Linked DNA regions of Homo sapiens: regions 2, 3, 4 and 5 are each linked to region 1. The links are contacts of gene promoters, found by promoter capture Hi-C in blood cells and fetal thymus (Javierre and others, 2016). All regions are on one chromosome and are shown on one strand. Each heading gives the region's core, a stretch centred on a gene start or on the middle of the fragment in contact. The rest is flanking DNA. Distances are from core to core; before and after follow the strand shown. Region 1 holds the start of LAS1L (LAS1 like ribosome biogenesis factor). Region 2 has its middle 29 kb from the start of MIR223HG. Region 3 overlaps VSIG4 (V-set and immunoglobulin domain containing 4). Region 4 holds the start of ZC3H12B (zinc finger CCCH-type containing 12B). Region 5 has its middle 11 kb from the start of MIR223HG.

Region 1 (2,700 bases), core at 185-2,684:
TGGAGGTAGAGGTTGCAGTGAGCCGAGAATTGTGCCACTGCACTCCAGCCTGGGCGACTGGGCCAGACGCCATGTCAAAAAAAAAAAGAAAAAGAAAAAAAGAAAAATAAAATAACTATAGGCAGACTATATCTTAGGAAAAGTTGGCTGGAGAAAGAAGCACATATAGAGGATGAATTGGGATTTGTTGCTGTGAAGCGTAAAAGTGCCACTCACAGCAATGCTGTTAAGATCGTTAGCAACAGTTCTCTCTCTCTCTCTCTCAAGTGTTACATTGGAAAATAACTTCTGCAAGAAGGATTGGGACATAGTCCTAAACATATTTCAGTCAACTCGTAAAATCGGAGGAACTTCATAATACCGCTTTTCTCCCAGAACTCCAAAATACCAAGGAATTTTGCAGAAAAACTAAGTATACCTTGGTGGATGTTGAAACCAACATAGCAGTGGAATGTTGGCAGAGTAAAATTCTACAATTTTCTGCTATGACAGAGAACCTAGAGACCAGTCTACAACTCTCACTGTACAGATGGGAAAACTGAGACTAGTCTAAGTCCACATAGTTAGTGGCAAAATTTAGAGTAAAACTCAGGTCTCTAGGCTGGTATTTATTTATTTATTTATGTATGTATTTATTTAATTTACTTTTGAGACAGAGTCTCGATCTGTCACCCAGGGTGGAGTGCACTGGTGCGATCTTGGCTTGTTGCAGCCTCCGCCTCCCGGATTCAAGCGATTCTTGTGCCTCAGCCTCCTGAGTAACTGGGATTACAGGCATGTGCAACCATGCTTAGCTAATTTTTGTATTTTTACTAGAGACCGGGTTTCACCATTTTGGCCAGGCTGGTCTGGAACTCCTGACCTCAAGTGATCCGCCCGCCTGGGCCTCCCAATGTGCTGGGATTACAGGCGTGAGCCACCACGCCTGGCCAGGCTGGTACTAATTTAAAAGGCAGGGCCCCTGGTTACCTGCCACAAAAGCAGATTTTTTCAACCCAACTGTAACTGTTTCGATATGAGATATTTCCTCTGTAGCCCTGCTTCAGTGTCCAGTGTTTTACTAGGTTAGGTCCTGATTCACGGCAATAAAAATATACTTAAAATCGCATTTTCAGTTCACTGGATGACTACAATCAAGCTGCCACCCGCCGAGGGGAGCAAAATAAAATTCCTCTTGCAGTGAAGACATACCGCTTCCGGTCTGGTACAGAAGCCGGTTAGCAACCAGGAAATTGGCGGAACCTAGAGGCTGAACTCTTGCCCCTGGAGGGTTTGCTTTGTGAAAAGAACACTTCCGGCCGGTGAGTTTTTAACCCCGCATGTCATTAGGTCGGCGCCCAATTCTGACGTTCCGATTGGCCATGCTGACGCTGGAAGGCGGGCTTGCGTATGGGGTCACGCTCTCCTATTGGCTGCTGGTGCGGTGGCGGTTCGGAGTGAGGGTAGCACGCTGAGCTGAAGGCTGTGCGGAGCGGCGCGGCACAGAGCCTGTTGTTGAGCTCAGTATGTCGTGGGAATCCGGGGCCGGGCCAGGTCTAGGTTCCCAGGGGATGGATCTCGTGTGGAGTGCGTGGTACGGAAAGTGCGTTAAAGGGAAAGGGTCGTTGCCACTCTCGGCCCACGGCATCGTGGTCGCCTGGCTCAGCAGGGCCGAGTGGGACCAGGTGACGGTTTATCTGTTCTGTGACGACCATAAGTTGCAGCGGTACGCGCTTAACCGCATCACGGTGTGGAGGAGCAGGTAAGGTGGCGGGTTCGGCCCTTTTGCCTGCGTGCTGGTGGCGCTGCACCTCTTCCTTTGTCGAGTTTCTATAAGGCCCTGTTCTCCAGTCTTCCCCTAAGTCGCCTAAAGTTGTCCCTCTCCCAAATGCCTGGGGGAACGCGGCAGCCATCTCTTGCGCTAATCCCGTTAGCGGAATGGAAAGTAAGGGGTTGTGCCTCAACAATTCTCTTGTTATATCTGTGAGGTTTACCCATTACCTCCAAAAAGTGACTTTCTCCCAACTTGGAGAGGATGCCGGAGGGACTAGTGAGGCCTGAGCCAGGGCTTAAGGAGTAGATTAGTACCCTAGGGTAGATTTCCGATTCCAATGGGGAGGAAGTCTTGCCTGCAAGACAGTGTTTGAGTGGGGCGCCTCAGTCCAGTTGGTAAGATTGAGTTGGGAGCCGACTTACAAGGGATAAGGGGCTCCTCTAGCTCAATGAGTTGATTTGGGGGTGAAAGAAAGGGGTGTGTCCACACAACTGTTGATGGACAGTCTACCAGTTAGGTGTCCTGTATACGGCCTAGTCAGCTCCTCATGCCCTGTATACTGTTGGATCCCACAGACATTACCGTGTCTCCTCCCACCTTCTTGTTTTGTGTCTGTTCATGCTCTCTTGAACCAGAATATGATGGGTGTAGCCTGCAACAACCTAGGTTCTGAGGTGGAGGGTGGACCAGTGTAAGGGCTCTTTATGATGGTGCTGGACTGTGACCCTTTAGGTCAGGCAACGAACTCCCTCTGGCAGTGGCTTCTACTGCTGACCTGATACGCTGTAAGCTCTTGGATGTAACTGGTGGCTTGGGCACTGATGAACTTAGACTGCTCTATGGCATGGCATTGGTCAGGTAAGACCTGCATGGGGTAGGGGTGGAGGTTGGCTTTGGGGACTGGAGGCAGGGGAGGCATGTGATAAGCAAAACTTGGCTTCAGGTGT
Region 2 (2,700 bases), core at 40-2,539, 450 kb before region 1:
TGCACCCAAATAAGATGTGGGGAAAGAAGGAGCACTATTTGGAAGTATTATGAGAATACCTGTGTGATTTGAGGCCAATGTATTGTGACCTGCATGTTTTTCATGGAACAGCAACCATCCCTGAAAATATTCTGGAGGTCAGTGGATAAATATACTTTGATAAACAAACATTTGCTTCCTACCCAATCTCTAGGCCTGTAAGTAAAGAGGAAGGCAGAGCAAACAGGACATAGTCTGCATGTTGATTTGTTTGAGGCTGGTCCAGATGTCTGGAATCTATCCCATTATTTTTCAGTTAATTTCTCCACCTTTCTCCCCCTCCTCATTTTTATCATCCGAAGGCCTAGAAGGCAGGAGACCAGGGTTTCATTCCCATTTGGTCTTGGACTCATATTATACCCCTGGACAGGCTTAAAAATAGTTTATTTTGTTATTTTTTGGCCTGCTTGACAAATAAACTAAACAACTTAGTATGTGGGGGTATGGTAATAGCCTAGAAAATGTATTTACTTATAAGCTTCAGAAATTGTGTAAAAAGAGAGAATGAGGCTAAAGTCCAGAATACTCTGCCTGGCACACAAAGGCTGCCACAATCTGGCTCCAGGCCCCACTCCCCCAACTCCTTCATCCCCTTACTCTTTATCTGAAAATGTCTTATTATTTCCCCATACCTATACCTTAGTGCTGACTGGTTCCTTGTCCTGAAATAATCTTCCCTTCTCCCTCTTCTATAACAGGTAAATTACCCTATATCCTTGATGATCCAGCACATCCAACATGACTCTATCAACAATATAATCACATTGGGTTATAATTATTTTTGTCTCTCTGTCATAAGAGACTGGGAGTTCCCTCAAAGACAGTATCTATTTATTTCTATGTCTTAACACTATTCCTACCACAGAATTGTCAACTGGCATTTATGGAAGGGAGGGTGAATGAAAAGGGAGAGATGGAATGAGGGAGAACAGAAAGGAAGAAGGGAGGAAAGTGAATTGGATAAAAACCAGAATTCCAAGTTCAGATATATGGTTTGAATTCTAATCCAGTCACTTTGTAGTTAAGATGCTTTGTAGCTGAATGTGTAGAGCAAATTAACTTCACATTTCTAAGCCTCAGTTTCCTTATCTGTAACACTGGGCTAATTCTCTCTAGGCCTGTCTGCTTCACTCACTCCACTGCATGGAATAAGGGAGGGAGAAATAAGAGAAGGTAGAGATGAAAGAGAAAACAAAGAGACAGAAAAGAAAACTGCAATCTCTGAGAAAGGGAAAAGTTTAAGGTTGGGGTAAGTGTACCTCCGGTTGTAGGAAACAAAAACCACTAGAGGGCAATGTTAACGCAGGGAAATTTTCCCTAGTAACAAAGGGAACAACCCACAACTGGATGGGCCAGGTCACACAGGAGCCAGTCCTGATGGAGCTCAGTCAGAACTGTGAATCCCCTGTTAGGTTTGGTATGTCGCACCCCAGATGACTGACATATATAAGAGCCACAGCTGCCTAGTATTCACAAATGGTAAGAGTGAGTCATTATTTGTTAGAATAAGGCTGCTTGAGATTGTTAGCGTCTATCACTAAGTTACAATGTGTTTGAGTTCTCATAAACATGCTGGAATGCCACACTTCTTCCTCCTCACAGCAGGGTCTAGAGTCTGTCTTCTTGCCTGTCAGGCTGTCTTGCATCACTACACAAACTCTAAGACCCTCCCGGGCACCATGTTTTTACTCCTTTCCATCAAGCACACATTGGATTACAGTGTTTACCTGCTCAGAAGCCACCTGGTGCTCTTCATTGCCTCCTAAAGAAAATTCAAAACTTTCAGCCTGGTTCTAAAGGTTTATTATAATCTGGTACCAACAAACTTTACCAGTGTCCCTCTTTGCCCTTTCATCAACCTCCGTGGAGCAGCCAGGCTGGACTGTTCCCTAGTCTCTGAACATATCCTCTGCATAGTTCTATTGACTTGACTTGGCTCCGTCCATTGGAATCTTCCATGAGATGAAACCTTAATTATCTTTAATGACATTGTCACACAACATTATTCCCATAGAAGCTTTCCTAATTCTACTAGTCACAAATTATCAGATGCTTGAGACTCGTCTGTGCTTTATCTATGCCTTTCACTTATGGCATTGATCACATTCTACCTTATGTTAGATTTGTTTAATTTATTTACTTATTTATTCTTTTGCTTAACATATATTGGTTGTATATTTTATATCAGTTCCCATGTGAAGGACTCATAAAAGATTAAGGCTTAATTCTGGCTCTCCAGGATCTAAGTGTCAAACTAGAGAATGACAGATATATAACACCACATTAGTTTTGCGCATGTTACGTGATAACAAAGGCACATCAAAGGATTGAGGAAGCTAGATTGGAGCCATACTGGAATGCCAAAAAAAAAAGAGATAGATAAGAAGACAGAGAGTGTATCTTCAGATAACTGCTCTATCAAATACTTAGCATGTCAATAAGTATTGACTCTATCCAGTAGAAAATGCGGCATTATAAGGGAGTTTTTAATTGGAGAGTGGGCCAAGGATTTGTGAATTGGGCCAAGGATTCCAGAGGAGATAAGAGGGGCAATTACAATACATGTCTATTTTCCCTACTAAATGTGAAGTTGCTTGGGAGCAAGAATTTTGTCTTACCAAATTATGCCCCCATGTCATCTGGAACAGGGCCTTTGTTATT
Region 3 (2,700 bases), core at 11-2,510, 490 kb before region 1:
GATAGGGACATTATGACATCATGACCTCAACCAGGTAAGGATAATGGCTGAGTGTCATTGCTTGAGCTCTTAACCAGGGCTCTTCAAGCCGCTTGAAGCTGATTTCTGATTCCTCCAAAGCCTTGAAAATTCCCAAGTCAGGGTCTCAGAGATTCAAATCCCAAATAAATCTTTTGTGTTTCACCTGCATCTGATAGTCAGTTGGTATGCCTTCACATGACTACATTGACTGTTGAAATAATAGAACACTCTCACACCAATTGATAATTAGCTGCTCCCCTTAACCCCTGAGCCCTCCATTATTACCTGGGGCTGCCTTGTCCCATTCCTCAGAACTCTCTAGACCACCCCCATGGTCATGCAACAAAAGGTATACCAAGGAATCTCTAAGACTCCAAGTCTACAGTAGGCATCTGTTGTGACTGGTTGGAATTAAATAGTTTGATAACTATCACTCCTGGTACTCATTCTCTGCCTGTGTATAATTGAGAGAGTGGACTTCCAAATGCTCTTTGTAACTCTCCATTCCTGATTGCAGAGTTTTTTGGCTATCCCTTGGCAGCACTCAAACCTGTTTTATGTTCCACATTTGCATTGCCATCTTTGGCTTCAAGATTTCCATAGCTCCGTTCCTCTCCGAGAAGAACATCTACTGGGAGAAGAGAAGTTAGAAATTGCCTCATAGGGAGTTGGTTTGGAAAAATGAGAAAATAACCTTGGGCAAAGTTATTAGATGTTGGGTCTGCGCCCTATTTTCTCTACCAAGTTTTTTAGTACTTGACTCTCTTCAAAAGAGAATATTTCTTCGATTTGTACCAGCTTATAACTTGAGCTCTCTCAGTCCCAACAAGACACTCTGAGGACCACAAATACTGGATTCCTAGGACACGATATCTTAGAGTCTCATGAAAACAAGCCAGTTGCAGCAACAAATCCTAAGTACACTGAGGTTCCTTTCCTCACGCCTCTCTATCCCCCCTGACCTAGCATCTTAGATTCAGAATATTATAGCTAAAAGTGCTTTAGACATCATCCAATCTTTTCATTGAACTTATGGGGTAACTAAGGCCTAGTGACAGTCAAAGTTTTGTCTAAGGTCACTGTATTCATTTTTCCATGGCTGCTGTAAAAACTTACCCCAAACCTAGTATCTTAAAACAGCATAAATATATTATCTTCCACTTCTGGAAATAAGTCTGACACAATTATCACTGAGCTAAAATCAAAATGTCAGTCAGCAAGGCTATGTTCCCTTTGGAGGGTTTGGAGAAGAATTAATTTCCTTGTCTTTCTTTTCTGGCTTCTAGAAGCTACCCACGTTCTTTGGCTCATGGCCCCCTTCCTCCATTTTCAAAACTAACAATGTAGCATTCTCAAATCTCTGTTCCTTTTTACTATGTAAACTAACATACTGACAGGTTCCAGGAATTTGGATGTGAATATCTTTAGAGGACCATTATTCTGCCTACCATAGTCATACAGAAAGTAAATAACAGATCTAGGACTGGAAGCCAAGTCCAGTTGATTCTTTCAGCTTTTAGGCATAATGGGAATATGTGTCTCAAGTGGCTCAGTGGAAATATGTTTTGAGAAAGAAGGAAGCTGGGGACTTGACCAGAGCGTGTGATGGGAAGAATCTTTGTGGCTAGAAGTAACTGACCAGAATCTTAATAAGGTATGTAGCATTTTTGGTGAAGCTGGAAAGTCAGGATATTATTTTCTTTTTTCTAAGGGAAGGTGAAAACCTTCTGTCTTGGCCCTATAGAAAGCATAGACAACTAGCTCAAATGCCCAGGCCAATCAGCCCACCAGTGAGTCTGGAAGAACCTGTTTACACATGGCATCTCTTTCTCAAGTCTTTCTCATGGGACTGGAGTTTTTTCTCTCTGGCTAGCTAAGAAGGTTAGGAGAATATGGAAAATGAAAAAGAAAAAGGCCTGGCTTAGTCTAGGCTGTTTCTTAGAGTTTTTGTTTCTGGCCTTATTTTCAATCAAATACCACTTGATCTTGTTTTACCCTCTAGGAAAGAGCCTGCCTGTCTTTGCCATCATCCTCATCATCTCCTTGTGCTGTATGGTGGTTTTTACCATGGCCTATATCATGCTCTGTCGGAAGACATCCCAACAAGGTTAGTGATGAATATGAGAAGGTGGCTTTGGCTCATTTGTTCTTTCTGTCAGTATACTTGAGCCTAAATTCTGTATCAGGCATTGTGTTAGGCACTTCAAGAAGCTCCCAGCCTAGTTTGGGAGTTAAGGTTGGGGTGCAGGGAGGCAGATGTTCGAGCAAACAATGGCATAAGACTTACAGAACTAAATGCACTAGGCTTTGGTACTCAGTGAAGTACAGCCATCTTTCTAACGAGTCATCTTGTAATGATGCAAGAGAAGGAGAAGTCACAATCCCTGGCCTCAAGTTGCTCACAATTTATTTAGGAGATTCAAGGTAGAAACATGGAATTTATCAATGACAATACATAGCAATAGAGGCTATGAGCTCAAAAACTAGAGAAGACAATTAATGCTAAAGGGATCCAGAGGAGAAGAGAGTAATTTAAGGCTTGGGTAATTAGCAAGGGATTTCAGAAGGAAGAATATCTTAGACCACATTTTGGAGGATGAAAACAAGTTGTAAGGAGACAGTATTTCAGGAAGAGAGAACTACATCAGCATAGTTGTTAGGGCCTAAAAGACAACTGAG
Region 4 (2,700 bases), core at 194-2,693, 500 kb after region 1:
TCAGTATGCTTTTGATAGGTGTCATCTGTGGACTGTAAGTTTTTTCAACCACTTACTTTTAAGAAAACAACCTCATTCATCAAAGATAATGTTGCTAATTTTCAAAAAAGCACCTCACAACTTTAGAACCTCATCTAATCACCTTGTCCAGAATATCACTTCCGGTGCCTCATGCCAATGTTTTCTGGAACCGACTATCTTCAACTGCAGGCTACCTCAGGAAGAACAGATATATCACAACCCATCCTCGCTTTTATTGGGGATATTTTAGGTTTCATCATCGTATTTATAATAAAAAAGAAGTATGCCATTCTGGATGAAAAGTAGTTTGTAAAACCAGTTTCCCCTATTATGAATCAGCCATTCTGCCTACTTCTCAAGTTTGATAGCACTTTAGAAGTCAAATGGAGTGTGTGTTTGTTTTATTATTTTTATTATTTAATATAAGTACTATCTTCCTAACGTACATGTCAGGAGTCAGAAGCCAGGCACAAGGCTTTCGGGAGGTCTTAGCACACGAGTAGCAACAACACTGAAAAGTAAGGGGCCACTCCAGCTATGTGTTCAAACCTTGAGGCATGGAGCGACAGCAGCCCGGGGAATGGGCTCCTGAGAAGCCCGCGGTCAGGCTGAGCCTCCTGAGAGAGCGAGAGCCAGAGCCAGAGCGAGGGGAAAGGGGCGAGCACGGCACTGGGAGAGTCTGTCCACGAATCAGGAATCAGGCTGCGTGACTGTACGTAGAATTATCAGCATCTATGGCATCTAAGAAGCAAAGCCAGGCCTTAAGCACCCACCCCGCATTCCTGGACGCCAGGGTTGAGACCAAAAAGTGGTGGCTATGAGAAGGAAAACTACCTCGAAGGGAATAGAGAGCCGCGAGCAGATGTGGGAGAGGCGTCAGAAGCTTCTGCAGGAGAAAGCAGCGATTCGCTCGCCTCCTGGGGCCACGGAGGCCGGAAAGGCGCACTAGAACCGAGCGAGTGCGGTGCCACTACTCACCCCTACTCTCCTATGGTCCCCGTCGTCGCCCTGCTCGACGCAGCCCCTGCAGGGGGGAGCCCCTCCCCCGCCCGCCGCAGGGGGTGGGCTCGGCGGGCGAGAGAAGGCGGCGGCGCAGGTGTCCAACAGCCGGGGCCAGAGAGGAGCTGGGTGCAAGGGAGACAGCTTGGTGCCTTGCGCTCCGTGGCGCCGCCAACTTCACCACCATCGACGTGGAGGGACGAGGGGAGGCGATGGGGGGAAGGCGCTCGCCCAGCGGCCCGGACCCTCCTGGGGTACTAGGCCTGAGCCTCTGGAGGGACCGCCGTTACCAGTCCCCTCAGCGATGCGACCCCCAGGCCTGATTCCAGTCCCTGGGCCCCCCTGGCCACAGAGCAGCGGCGGCTCCCTCTTGGGGCCGCGGTCGCAGCTGCATCCTCCTGCTCCTCCTCCTCTGGCGCCTCTGCCTACACACACAGCCCCGGCGCGGTTATCGCCGCGGCGCCCGGCCGCCGTTGCCTAGCAACTGTGCGCATGCGCCCCACCCCTGTCGGCGACTGCTGCCACCGCTGGCGCCGCTGTCGGAGCTCAGACCAGCAGGCCTACGACCTAGAAAGTGCTCAAAACCCCACTTCCTAAGGCCTAGAAGGAGCGACGTGAAGGTAAGCGTGGGTGAGGAGAGGTCCAGGATGCTCTGCAATTCGATAGGCCCGAGGACTTGGGATACGACCGTCTCCCAGCCCCTCGACAGGCACCTCTGCGGTTAAGAGTGACAGTCCCAACAACCTCACTACTTGTCTCACTGCCTTTTATTTGTCTTTTATTTGTTTTTATTTTATTTGCCTACGTATTTGTCTTGGCTCCTCCAATTCATCCTTCACAAGGGCTGCCAGGGTAATTTTCTAAATAACTTCTCTGACTATGTCACTCGTCTGCATAACTCAGGTGGTTAAGGGTCACCTCCCTTAATAGGGCCTAACAATTCTTGACTACTGCAACAGCATACTCTCTGGTTTCTTTGCCTTTAGACTTGTCTTTCTGCAATTTGTTCTCATACTTCTACCAGTGATCAAATGAAAATCTAATCTCACTTCCTTCTGGCTTAGAGAATGGGCTTTGAAATTACAGCCAAGTTTGAATTTCTGCTCCACCACCAAGTAGCTCTGTTTCCTTGAACTAGGAATTTTTTTTTTTTTTTTTTTTTGACAAAGTCTTACTCTGTCGCCCAGGCTGGAGTGCAGTGGCGCCATCTCAGCTAACTGCAATCTCTTACTTCTGGGTTCAAGAAATTCTCCTGCTTCAGCCTCCCAAGTAGCTGGGACTACAGGTGCAAGCCACCATGCCTGGCTAATTTTTGTATTTTTAGTAGAGACGGGGTTTCACCATGTTGGCCAGGCTGGTCTTGAACTCCTGACCTCAAGTGATCCGCCCGCCTCCGCCTCCCGAAGAGCTGGGATTACAGGCGTAAGCCACCGTGCCCGGCCTGAGCTAAGATTCTTAACCTGTCTAAATCTGTTTCCTTATCAGTAAAATGGGGATAATTATAATACCTATAGAGTAGTTATGAGGATTAAATGGAAAAGTGAATGTAAAGCACTTAACATACATAACTTACTGTGGCTCAGAGTAAGCGCTTAGTAAAAATTGGAGTTATTTTTCAATAGATTCATTATCTATAATAAAGGAGAAAATACAGATTCCCTAGCTTAACATTCAAAGTCC
Region 5 (2,700 bases), core at 131-2,630, 470 kb before region 1:
CTGTTTTGTCCCTCATCTGTTGATCTCTGAGCCTGTACATATAATCACATCTTAACCAAATTTAAAAAAAAAATCTTTCTAGTGACCACCACATCATTCTTCAGATCACTCTAAAAAGTAGGTTCCATAGATTACCTCACTGTTTAACCTCCTAATCTACCATAATTTAGCTTTTTGTCTTTATTCTCATTTCTGCACTAACCTTGGTAACTGTTGTCACAAAATTACCATGAACTCTTAATCAACAAAACCAAAAGCCTCTCTACTAGCCCTCACTCCCTTCAATGTCTCTGCAACAGGTGACTGTCAGCCATTTCTTCTTTCCTAAAACCTGTCATCAAATGGTTTAGAGAATACCCTCCCTCTCCAGACTGAATTTGATCACCAGAACCACAGAAGTATGGTTCAGATGAGATGTAAAGATCAAATTCATGCCAGAGGATCATAGCCAATTGCAGAGACTGTCTTCTCCATTTGTGTCCCTGATACCTAGCAGAACACCTGATCCCAATAGTGCTCAGTGAGAATTGTTGAATTTACCTATACTCCTCTGATTCACCTATCTTCCTAACCATTCTCTTTGGTTCTCTTAACGACGTCTCTTTCTTTCCTGTTCTTTATTAAATGTGTTTCCAAATACTCTGTACTTTTGTCTTTTTGTTGTGTCTCTGCACACTTCCTTACTCTCTTTCTATCTTCCCTACCTCCAGATCAGTAGATTCAATCTAATATTGAACATATCTCCCTGAATGTCTAAGTCCTCATGCCCTAGACCCTACACCTCAAACAAACTTGGTCATAATACTGTGTTTCTTATCTCCATGGAGAAAATCCAAGTTAGAAATATCAATCATCGTTGATCATCATTATATATTTTTACTAATATTCTGATTATAACACTTATGACCTTAAAGTGTGATATTTTTTGTCCATGCCTTTTTCTCATGAGTAGCCTGTAGTTCCCTCAAGAAAAAGTATCTCTGTTTAAATTGATTTCTGTATCACCAGTGTTTGGCACATAGTAAGGGGCCTTAGTGTTAGCAATTGTTAGCTAAATTAATAAAGGGTGATGAGGTCAGCTCCCAGAGTGCTTGTATTTGAGGAAGAGAATGATTTTGTTCCTAATGATGAAGAAGAATATAGAAAAAAAAAGATGAAAATGATGTTCATTTTCATCCAGGAATGTTTTTATCCTTAAAGTTTGATATTTATTGCCAGGATGATCTTTTAATAACACAACTCTAGTGGTGTTATTGCACTGCTCAGAAAAGATGAGTGGCTCTTCATTGTTTTAAGCTTAAAGTTCAAAATTTGTCAGCTAAGTGATCAGGATCTTTCACAATCTGTACACAGCCTATGTCTTCACTGTTCTCTTCCCATCCTATATTCTGACTACTGCATGCCCTATATTCTAGTATACCTCCAGCCTTTACACATGCCTCTCTGTGGACCTGGAAAGCTTCCTATTCCCTTCACATCTATTCTGTCAGGAGACCTTGTGTTTCTTCTTCAGACCCAGCTCAATTGTCATCTCCTCTGGGAAACCTCTTTTAATTGTCCTAGACAAATTCTTCTGTGCGTTGTATGCACCTAAATTACAGCCTGATTACATTGTATTTAGAATACCTGTTTACATAGTTACAAAGTGTGCTCTACCAGGCACTGGCTTTAACTTAATAATTTTTGGATTCCCAGATCCTAGGTTAAGTTCTAACATGAAGTAGCTTTTCTGTAAATGTTGGTTAAATCTGACTAAAATGCCTGCTGAAATAAATATTAATATTTGTGCTATATAATCTGACTCCATCTTGACTTATGGATACTTTCCACACATGTTAAGTCCACAACTCCAATTCTGCCCGAGTTAAAATCTCTTCAGATGGCAGGGGTGAGTCATTTCTTAGGCTCCATACCTAGAACACAGTAGGCTTTTAGTGAACCATTTGAAATCAAGATGTGTTTGGAGGTGAACATAGGCCAGCACAGCAATCGGGTTGATGAGTAATGTCTTCTTTTTTTTTTTTTTTTTTTGAGGTGGAGTCTTGCTCTGTTGCCCAGGCTGGAGTGCCATGGTGCAATCTCAGCTAACTGCAACCTCTGTCTCCTGGGTTCAAGCAATTCTCCTGCCTCAGCCTCCCCAGTAGCTGGGATTACAGATGTGTGCCACCATGCCGGCTAATTTCTGTATTTTTAGTACAGACGGGATTTCACCATGTTGGCCACGCTGGTCTCGAACTCCTGACCTCATGATCTGCCCACCTCGGCCTCCCAAAGTGCTAGGATTACAGGTGTTAGCCACCCCGCCCAGCCAGTAATGTCTTCTAAACCTCTGTTTTCTTCCTATGGACATAATGAGACAAAATTTGAATAGAGAAAAACACAATTGCAACCAGGGTTGCATTCCTGTCACCTTAGGTAAGGAAGAAGAGGAAATGAAAATCAGAGAGGCGACAAAGCTGCGTGGGCTGGAGGGAGGAAATCTGTTGTAAATATCAAAAAGCGAAGCTGAAAATAAACCTCAGCCCTTTAGAGAATTACTAGTGAAGTTAAGTTCAATTGATTTAAAGATTGCTTTTCAGAGAGTTCATAAAACTCATGATCCTGAATTGAGGGTTGTTTGGGAAAAACCCCAAACCATTTTTTTCCTCTGCTTTCACATCAACACAACAATCAACATGGAAGATTTCTGCAGCCAAATGT

Evidence for each region. Contacts are between HindIII fragments. The CHiCAGO score rates a contact against its expected background, and 5 or more counts as called.
Region 2: a contact is called between a fragment that was not itself captured here and the fragment with the promoter of LAS1L in region 1, in 6 of 17 cell types (total CD4 T cells, M1 macrophages, total CD8 T cells and 3 more). The highest score is 6.1, in total CD4 T cells.
Region 3: a fragment that was not itself captured here is called in contact with the fragment with the promoter of LAS1L in region 1 in 1 of 17 cell types (activated CD4 T cells); the score reaches 7.1 in activated CD4 T cells.
Region 4: the fragment with the promoter of ZC3H12B here is called in contact with the fragment with the promoter of LAS1L in region 1 in 2 of 17 cell types (total CD4 T cells and non-activated CD4 T cells); the score reaches 6.4 in total CD4 T cells.
Region 5: a fragment that was not itself captured here is called in contact with the fragment with the promoter of LAS1L in region 1 in 2 of 17 cell types (naive CD8 T cells and total CD4 T cells); the score reaches 6.5 in naive CD8 T cells.

The regions. Positions count from the first base shown.
Region 1 is chrX:65,533,521-65,536,220 of GRCh38, reverse strand. It overlaps LAS1L (LAS1 like ribosome biogenesis factor), which reads left to right and starts at 1,434. Exons shown (of 14, transcript NM_031206.7): 1 at 1,434-1,741; 2 at 2,486-2,611. The coding sequence starts at 1,506. RefSeq lists an enhancer at 1,160-1,339. The HindIII fragment of the contact is 19,270 bases long and covers 1-2,700 here.
Region 2 is chrX:65,985,068-65,987,767 of GRCh38, reverse strand. No RefSeq gene overlaps it. Among named protein-coding and RNA genes, the nearest start is that of MIR223HG, 29 kb to the left of the region's middle. The HindIII fragment of the contact is 1,539 bases long and covers 520-2,058 here.
Region 3 is chrX:66,024,453-66,027,152 of GRCh38, reverse strand. It overlaps VSIG4 (V-set and immunoglobulin domain containing 4), which reads left to right. Exons shown (of 8, transcript NM_007268.3): 6 at 2,024-2,128. Among named protein-coding and RNA genes, the nearest start is that of MIR223, 6.9 kb to the right of the region's middle. The HindIII fragment of the contact is 3,017 bases long and covers 1-2,700 here.
Region 4 is chrX:65,033,569-65,036,268 of GRCh38, reverse strand. ZC3H12B (zinc finger CCCH-type containing 12B) reads right to left here and starts at 1,443. Exons shown (of 10, transcript NM_001010888.4): 1 at 1,000-1,443. It also overlaps a transcript of ZC4H2 not described here. RefSeq lists an enhancer at 816-875 and silencers at 976-1,205, 1,266-1,415. The HindIII fragment of the contact is 4,649 bases long and covers 907-2,700 here.
Region 5 is chrX:66,002,727-66,005,426 of GRCh38, reverse strand. No RefSeq gene overlaps it. Among named protein-coding and RNA genes, the nearest start is that of MIR223HG, 11 kb to the left of the region's middle. The HindIII fragment of the contact is 163 bases long and covers 1,299-1,461 here.